Regions from separate parts of the Homo sapiens genome. Here region 2 is linked to region 1. The links are contacts of gene promoters, found by promoter capture Hi-C in blood cells and fetal thymus (Javierre and others, 2016). All regions are on one chromosome and are shown on one strand. The core of a region is centred on a gene start or on the middle of the fragment in contact, and the rest is flanking DNA. Distances in the headings are between cores, read along the strand shown. Region 1 holds the start of MARCHF3 (membrane associated ring-CH-type finger 3). Region 2 overlaps MARCHF3 (membrane associated ring-CH-type finger 3).

What was found. The method cuts DNA at HindIII sites, captures the fragments that hold promoters and counts their contacts. A CHiCAGO score of 5 or more calls a contact.
Region 2: a contact is called between a fragment that was not itself captured here and the fragment with the promoter of MARCHF3 in region 1, in 4 of 17 cell types (naive B cells, total B cells, erythroblasts and 1 more). The highest score is 10.7, in naive B cells.

Annotation. Positions count from the first base shown.
Region 1 is chr5:127,028,787-127,033,270 of GRCh38, reverse strand. It overlaps MARCHF3 (membrane associated ring-CH-type finger 3), which reads left to right and starts at 2,713. Exons shown (of 5, transcript NM_178450.5): 1 at 2,713-2,921. LOC105379163 (a long non-coding RNA gene) reads right to left here and starts at 1,928. Exons shown (of 2, transcript XR_007058920.1): 1 at 1-1,928. RefSeq lists an enhancer at 1,831-2,375 and a silencer at 2,372-2,751. The HindIII fragment of the contact is 7,560 bases long and covers 1-4,484 here.
Region 2 is chr5:126,976,374-126,980,857 of GRCh38, reverse strand. All of the region lies in intron 1 of MARCHF3 (membrane associated ring-CH-type finger 3), which reads left to right. Among named protein-coding and RNA genes, the nearest start is that of MARCHF3, 52 kb to the left of the region's middle. The HindIII fragment of the contact is 1,988 bases long and covers 1,568-3,555 here.

The sequences.
Region 1 (4,484 bases), core at 1,464-3,963:
CATGAAAGTCACCTAATTCTAACTTGTTTCATGACAGGACATTTCCTTTATTTCCATTTTTCATCACTTAATGTAAATACTAAAGTAAGTACAGTCATGACCTAGTGTTTGGCTCCTATTCCCGAAATGATTTTAAAAATAATAATCAGCATCTATGAAAACCTTCACAGGGTACTAATATGATAAGCACTGTTGGCAAATGTTTTCTCTAGTTATATCCTGAAGTGTGGTAGGAAAAAAAATCCAAGGAAGTATATTTCTTCCATGAGCATTTCCTGATAATTCTAGTCAAAGATGACGTTTCATGGCAGCCTCCGTGAAAGCAAACAGAAGAGCACAATTTTAAAAACACATCAAAGTGGAGTTCTGCTGGAATCAGGTTGGGAGTCAAGTCTTCTCTCTCTTTGGCCTTCTCTCCTGTAAGGCACCTCCAGCCATGTCCTTGCCCAATCCAGACCTGGGCAGAAACCTGGTGAATATTCCATTCATGTGGTCTACATCTAATACTTTATGGGCAAAGGCCATTCTCCTAGGCCAGTCAGCAGCATGCTAAGGAACCTCTGGAATTGAGTCAGATGGTCTTCCTTGCCTGTAGCAGTCCTTTGGTCCACAAGATAGAAAATAAAGAACTTAAGGCTGGGCGCAGTGGCTCACGCCTCTAATCCCAGCACTTTGGGAGGCCGAGGCGGGCGGATCACAAGGTCAGGAGATCGAGACCATCCTGATTAACACGGTGAAACCCCGTCTCTACTGAAAATACGAAAAATTAGCCGGGCGTAGTGGCGGGCGCCTGTAGTCCCAGCTACTTGGGAGGCTGAGGCAGGAGAATGGCGTGAACCCAGGAGGCGGAGCTTGCAGTGAGCCAAGCCATAGCACTCCAGCCTGGGCGACAGAGTGAGACTCTGCCTCAAAAAAAAAAGAAAAGAAAAGAAAGAACTTAAATATGGACAATGTTTGCATTACTGAGCAATTTTTCAGGGTCTGCAAAGGGCTATCCCTGCCCTAGTCTCCTGCCCTTCTGACAACCTTCCTATGGACCTTTTCCCATTGAGAAATGGAGCTGAGGAGACAGAATTGAAACTCAAACCAGGCCAGAGCTCACCTAAGAGGGGCCATTTCACTCCTTTTCAGCCACCAGCCCTTTACATTCCTTCTCCCTGGTGACCTCATCAGAACCTTCTCATGAGAGGTCAGCTATGATGCAAGACCTTATAGAGGCCAGATGGCATTGAAATAACACCTTGCAGCTCCCTTACATGTGAATAATTGCCCATACTGAGAGACTAAAACCCTTAGGACTTCTGGGACCTGAATGAGGCAATGGTCTGAAGTGGGCTTGCGCTGGAAGCAAGACGTAAGTGGTGAAGGTGAGTATCAGGGCAGCAGGTTGACCCCTTTCTTGTTATGAGCATGCATTCCTTCATTCTTACTAATACGGGTTAGGTGCCTACCCATGGCAAGAGCAGTTCTAGGCAGGGAGAGGCCCCTACCCACCCACAGCTGACGGTCTAGGGCTTGTTTACATTCTAGGTTTCAGCGGGAAAGCAAGAACACCCAACTCCCTGCTTTTGATTCTATGTTAGTAGCTCAGCGCGCCTGTGCGAGCACGTGCTGCAGCCAGGGTAGGGGCTCAGAAACTGGTTGACAAGATGAGCAGTGGGGTCCTAGGGGGTTGGGCGGGAAGGGCCCACAAGGCCATATTCCAGGCTGTTCGGCTGCGAGTGACCCCTGAGAGGTCGGGATCTCCGAGCTCGTCCGATGTCTCCATCCCAGCCAGGAGCTTGCGAAGGGGAAGGAGGGCGGAAGCAGAGTGGGACAGATGTGGTTCGTTCTGGGGCTTCCTGTCCACGAAGATGGATAATTCTAGCGACCCGCCTGGGATTTTGGAATCCTGGCGGACCCAAAAGACAGCAGAAGTCACCGCAGAGGATGCCACCCCGCACGGCAGCCCGCCCAGAGCGACGGTCTCACAGGTTCCGGCGCCGTCGAGCGCCCAAGCCTCCTGTTGGCCGCCAGCTGTGTCCGCGACGCGCTGGGTCGGGAGGAGGAGACCCGAGGCGCCGGTAAGTCCCCCGCTGCAGGTGGCCCGGAGGGCAGGGGTGAGGACGGGGACGTGTACTGAACTTTGGGAGGTTTGCGGGGCTGGAGTTTTGTTTCAGAGATAGCCAGATCGAGATCAGAACGTTTTCCAGAGAGCCCAGGTTTCCACTTGTGGCTGGGCGACCCGGTCCGGAATTCATCCTTTCTCGGCCCTCAGCTTCCTCCGGGCGGGGTTCCGATGGGGCAGCTAAGTTCCGCGCCTCCTGCCGGTGCCAGATACTGGCGTGTCGACCCGCGCTGCGGTTGGCTTCTTGCTCCACAGCGCTATGCGCGCGGCGGCTCCGAGGGCTCCTGGTCTCTCTCAGCCAACGGCCTTCTGGGGCCGCCGCCTCCCTCTAGAGCTGCTCGGGTCCCATTGCAGAGAGTCCCGCAGCGCCCGCCGGCAGCCACGGCACTTCGCAATAACCAACTTCCCCGCCGCCGGCGCGTCCCGCCAGCCTGCCCTCGGCCGCAGGCGACTGGACGGCGGTTACGGGGCGGTCCCAGCGCCACCACGACTGGCTGTCGGCTCCGCCAGTCATGGGCTGATGACGCCCCGGGGCTGGCTCCGCCCCTAGCGGCAGCCCCGCCTCCCCTCCAGAGCCTGGTCGGCTTAGCCCTGCTTTCCGCCTCACTCGTTGAGCAGGTCCGTGAATTGTCAGCGCGCTGTGGGCGACTGTGTGGCCGCGGCGGCCGCCAGGCTTGCCGCACTCCCCCTGAGGTGCCCGCCGGAACCAATGTGCCCTGGTCCACTGGGCCGTGAGCAGCCACCGACTGGGGGCAACTTGGCACTTAGAACCGCAGCAGGGACGTCGGTTTGCTATCGGGACTCGGCGAGGACGGTGAGTGGCCGCGCGCCGGGCTAGCGGCTCCTCTCGGCGCGGTTCGGCGGCGGCGAGAGGGGACGGGACGCGTCCTGGCGCTCGGCGGTCCGTTCGTCCGAGCGTGACCGCTGTGGGGAGGTCAGGGCTGGGCGGGATTTACTCCGTGCCAATATCCCCACTCCCGAACTTCTTCTTGTCAAAGCATCCCAACTCCGCCCGGGACGCGGTTCCAGTCCGCACCAACTTGGCGTAATTGACATGGGTAGGTGGGGCCGGGACGCGTCCCCTGCCCCTCTGCGGCAACGACATGGAGCGCTGGGGCGGCCTCCGCGCCCGCGGCGTGCGGACCGCGGTTCCTGAAAAATTACCCGCGCTGTGCGGTACGGTAAGACCCGGCGTCCGCGTCTGGATCTCAAGGCTGAGCGAGCGCTCATCGGGCTCAAGGTGGGTCTCAGCGCCAGAGAACTGGAGTACCAGCCGGGTTCTGTAGCGGGGGCTTCAGTGCTCTGCAGCTACTGAGAGGAATTGAGAGCACTGCTGGGCTTTGAACTTTCTAAAGTAATTGCTTTCTATTAGCACTTGAATCCATGACCCTCCTGAGGTGCTCGGACCTCCACATCCACCCGCAAGGGGTGTCCGAAGGACTTCGTTAGGACCAGGCGGGAGCTGCTGTCGGTTCTGGTGCCCAGTGCCTTGGAGAATCCTAGAGGCTGCGAAAGGGATTGCCAGCCTGGTCGGTTGGTGTTTGTTTGAGCACCTGCGTGTTTAAGTGATGAAGTTGAGTCAGGAATTGACAGCAGAGAACTCAAGGTTAAACCTGACACTCCGTTTGTGACTCGGTCTGGGTTAGATTGTTTTCCCCCCTTAATGGTAAGGGGGTAAAAGCAGCTTGTTTTTCTGAGACCAACTACATGCATGTAGTTTATATTATGTGCGGAATAAACAGAATTCAATACGATATTTTCTTACAATTCTTATTTGACATGAATAAGAGCTTTTGAAAATACTAGACAGAAACAGGTCCAGAATTTGGGGATGTTTAGACCTTTGAAAATACATGAAAATGTTGAGATATATAGTTCTGTATGTGTATATGAAGATGTAGATGCGCATATACACACATACATACGTGTATATGTGTGAGTGTGTGTATATATAAAATTAAAAGGTGAATGAGGTAAATATATGAAGGGGAAATTCAGCCTTGAACTTCCCTTGGGTCACAGAGATGGATCCTCTGAGCTGTGGGGTGTTAGTGAGTGTGTATGCGTAAGCATGTCTGCATCTGCCTGGTCTGTCTGGGTCAGAGTATGTCCATGAACTTTACGAGCGTTCAGTTCAATACCACTCAGTGCAGAATCCGCGTTCCTGTTTTACAGCCCAGCAGCCGCCAGCCGGCCCATCTGTTAAAACATAACATGTACACTTCAGTCCGACCACTGGGGTGGAGCCTGGGTAGGGGGCAACTCTTAGCAGAAACAACATGCTACAAACAAAGCCTGCCTCTCAAGTTCTATTTTCATTCAATATTTGGCCTGAACTTGAAGTTTTGGTGAGGGAGAAGGAAGTGTTTGTCTCTAG
Region 2 (4,484 bases), core at 1,312-3,811, 52 kb after region 1:
ATGCTAACAAACAAAAACTTAAAATACTAATCTTACCTCTCCTTCATGCCTATAGTATGCCACACTGGGCAGAAGATGGTTCTGGATGTTCCCCAGATGAAACTAAGTTTGCAAACTGGTGGCCCACAGGCCCACCTAACCATAGATGTGTTTTATTTGGCCTGTGCTGGGGTTTTAAAAAATATTTGAGGCCAGGCGTGGTGGCTCACACCTGTAATCCCAGCACTTTGGGAGGCTGGGGCGGGCAGATCATGAGGTCAGGAGATTGAGACGATCCTGGCCAATATGGTGAAACCCTGTCTCTACTAAAATACAAAAAATTAGCCGAGCCTGGTGGTGCGCACCTGTAGTCCCAGCTATTCAGGAGGCTGAGGCAGGGGAATCACTTGAACCCGGGAGGCAGAGATTGCAGTGAGCCAAGATTGCGCCACTGCACTCCAGCCTGGCAACAGAGTGAGACTCCATCTCAAAAAAAAAAAAAAGGAATGAATCATCAACATCTCAAACTCAAGAGATTCTACATAAAATCTGTGTTTCTGGCTTCTCTTAAAATTCTAAAGATCTAGTCACCCTGGGCCAAGGAGTGGCTATTCCCTTCATAATGGATTAGGGCTCCCACATGGCTGCCCCAGTTCACATTCACACCCAGCCCACTTGTCACTTCCAGGATCTACTAGTCTCTGCAGGCATTTGAGTTTGGCATCCCCAACAGAGAAGGTGCGCAGAAGAGGAAAGATTTTGCTTTCCTTATAGATGTTCGTGGTGACATCTCTGTGTCAGTAAGAAGTTTGATCCACTAATGAGCAAGATTGTTATACACAAGAGTTCTGGAATCAGAGACAGGTGAAATAGGCTCAATTAGTATACAGGATTTCACTTTCATTTCTTTTTTTTTTTTTTTTTTTTTTTGAGATGGAGTTTGGCTCTTGTTGCCCAGGCTGGAGTGCAATGGTGCAATCTCGGCTCACCTCAACCTCCACCTCCCGGGTTCAAGCGGTTCTCCTGCCTCAGCCTCCCGAGTAGCTGGGATTACAGGCATGCACCACCAAACCTGACTAATTTTGTATTTTTAGTAGAGACAGGGTTTCTCCATGTTGGTCAGGCTGGTCTCAAACTCCTGATCTCAGGTGATCTGCCCGCCTCAGCCTCTCAGAGTGCTGGGATTACAGGCGTGAGCCACTGCGCCTGGCCTCACTTTCATTTCTAATAAGGAATAAAGACCATTTCAAAATTAGAAAACTCTAAGGAAAAACACACTTAAATGGAGGACAGGTAACCTGAGTTCCTGATGCAGCTGCCCTGCCCCCATGCTGATACCTAGTGTCTTTACCTACATAATGGAAAGTGTTAACCATCATTCAGCATTCATTCCCTTAACAAGATTTATATAGAGTGGTTGACATCGAGGGTTTACAGTCTTCCCAAAATGGATCTGCATTTAAGACTTCGTTTTCCTCACCTATCAAATAAGGAATGAAATCACAAACACCTCAGTGTGTGACATACTCTGAATACCCAGTTATTGTGAGCTCTTATTATTTGTTAAGTACCAGATGTTTGCCAAGCTTTGTGCTAGACCTTAGAAATACAAAAACACAGAAACATGTGGTCCATGTCCTAAAGAGCCGCAGTCTGGTTGAGGAAGTAAATTCTGGGCTAACAAGTAGAGTCAGCAACCTAAACAAAAGCCCCTCAGAATGACTGTACTGTTGAAACATAAATAGGACTGATAAAGCCCCAGGTTATTACAACATCATATTAAATTAAGGAAAGTCCGTGTGCAACACCTACCTTGAGAAATAAACATGTATATACATATCTAAATATGATAGAGGTAACAAAAGTTTTCAATAATAGGATTTTTCTTAGGGGAGTTCCACATCAGACTTCTAAATCCAAGGTTCTTGACATCTGGAGTGGAGTCTTCCCATTGATAGTTCAGCCAGAGCCCTTGCTCCAGAAAATGTATGTACACAATAGTTTGCATAACATTCCAGGGATCTGAGAGCCCCAGAAGCCCATCCATGAGGCCTGCTCCATGTAGTTCCTCACTGGGCTGGTCACACAGTACATAAAAGCAGTGGCTCCAAAAGAGGTGCTCAGTTACAGAAGAGAGAGAGCCGCTCATAGAAACAGTCAGGGCAGTTCTGTGTGAGAGCAAAAAGCCGAGTTGCATAGAGGTCCAGTGGGCAGTGAGGGGAATGTTGAATGAAGAAAACGTCTTTTTTCTTTTCTTAGATAATGCTGATATGCCTGTAACAACTAATGTAGTCAGAACGAGTACTTCATATATCTGTCACATGTTTAATTGTGGACACTCTGACATCTTATCTTCTCTCCTGTGATCCTTTCACCTTTTTCATAAATCTCTGTTATCTAGGTATGAAAAGAAACCTTAGTATCTACTAAGCCAAAACATCCTTTCACATAGGGTTGATCTGGCTTTTTGTTCTTTTTCCCCCACTCTTTCCCTATTCTTCAACATTCCATTCCCAATATGTCCAGAACTAATTCTGCATGGGACCTAATTATCGGTTGGTGACCCGAATGGGGCTGGTCACTCTGGGCAGTCTCTCTCTCCTTGGCCCTTTCTGGCCTTTAGGTCACATGTAGTACTTTATCAGTTCCCTCCAAAATAAATCCAGCTGCAAAAGTATTGGAAAATAAGGTAGGTTTTACTGAGGGTTTTGGGGGTAGAGTGAAAAGAAAACTCACCACGTGAAGACAAAACATCACAAGATTCCCAACATACAATACTCAACTGCCAAAGCCTTTCTCTTGGGGGCCAGCCCCTCATCTTTCCTCGGCTCTACCTGCCTTCCCCACACTCTTGCTCTGTACTTGTGCTAATTCAGAGAATATAGCTCCCTCAGCTTCTCCAATTTTGCTTTCTCATATCTGTTAGTTACTTAATACTGCCTTGAATTATGAGAAAGCCTCTATGCTAAGGATGACAATTTTTGTTTGTACCCCTAATCACAAATGTCTTTGTGTTTTACTTAATACATTGAAGGCATCCTTGATGTTAGGACATGTATATTAATCTTGCATTTCGGAATGGCCGAATAGTGTTGCCTTGTATACATGCAACATGCTGTGTTTAGCCATTCCTGTACACTTACCTTATTTCTTTTTCTTTTTTCTATTATAAACAAGCTGCAATCAAACATATATTGCACACTTATATGAGTATGACTGTAGGATAAATTTCTGGAATTGATATTTCTGTGTCATGAATATATGCATTGTAATATTTAGTAGTTATTGCTCTCTAGAAATTTATCTTCCAAGCAACGGTGTGAAAGAGATCTGTTTCAGTTTTCCATAAAACCCCATTTTTATGTTTGTTTACCTTATTTTATGTTTGCCGATTCCTTGATTTAGGAAGGGCTTAAGGTGGCTGGCAAGGAAATATACATTAGAGGTAGATGGGTTGGGGGTAGAAGTGAAAAATGAAAGGTAAGAATATAAAATGGACCAGTGATTAAGATTATTATAAAAATTCATTCAGGTTTATTCTATGCCCTAGGTGACCTTCAGGTTTGGTGCTAAGCTTTCCAGCAGCCAAGGCAAAGAGGGGAGTCAATTATATAAGCCACTACTAAAACAAAGCTGTGCCTTGGGGTCCTTATAAAAATGAAAAAGGACTTTGTACAGGGCAACAGTAACTTCAGCAGCATGACTTCATGTGATCCCCTCAGCACCTCTGTATCTGCTATTTACCTCGGACCCAAAACATGTTGCCCTAGAGCAGAGCTCTGCCTTCAGTCATGTACGTGCTGATTATGTTGGGTGGACAGCAGTCTGGCCAAAACTGATAAAACCTGTGCCTCCAAATGTGGCCTGATAGCAGGGCATTAAGAGCAGGCATCACCTCTCATATACATAGACCTTCCTTTCTCTTCAAAGCTCCTAGGAATTGTCTTGGAGGATGGGACCAAGAAGCAAACCCAGGATCGGTGGATGTAAACCAGATCAGGAAAGCATCACTGTGGGGGCATTTCCAGGCAGGATGTGTGGGCTGCCTGCCACGTGAGCAGGTGGAGGGCCCAATGGGGCTCTCCCTGCTGCCAGGATCGGGGCGAGGATTCCCAGAGGGAGAGAGAGCCAGGTGCCATGTGTGCAACTGCAGATGCCAGAGTGGGCTCCTGAAGGAAATTGTGTCATTTCAGCTCCTGACCTCAGAAACAGGAGATAGGAGAAAGCCATGGTGACCTCAGCTGGGTGGGGAGACAACTAATCAGCCACCCCAGGTCTGAGGTGGCCCCAAGGCAGGTCAAGGATGTGAAGAGGTCTAGATAGATAGAAAGGAAATACAGAGGCTCAGCTTTTGGAAACCACACAGGGGCTGAGTGCCCCAGTAGAGGGTCAGATAGTTCTGCAAGGAAGCCAGGGTAGCCCAAAGCAGAGGCAATGAACCTGGAGACCAAGTAGCAGAGGAGCTGAAAGAGAGTTTGACTTGTACCTAGATTTGAAACCAGAGT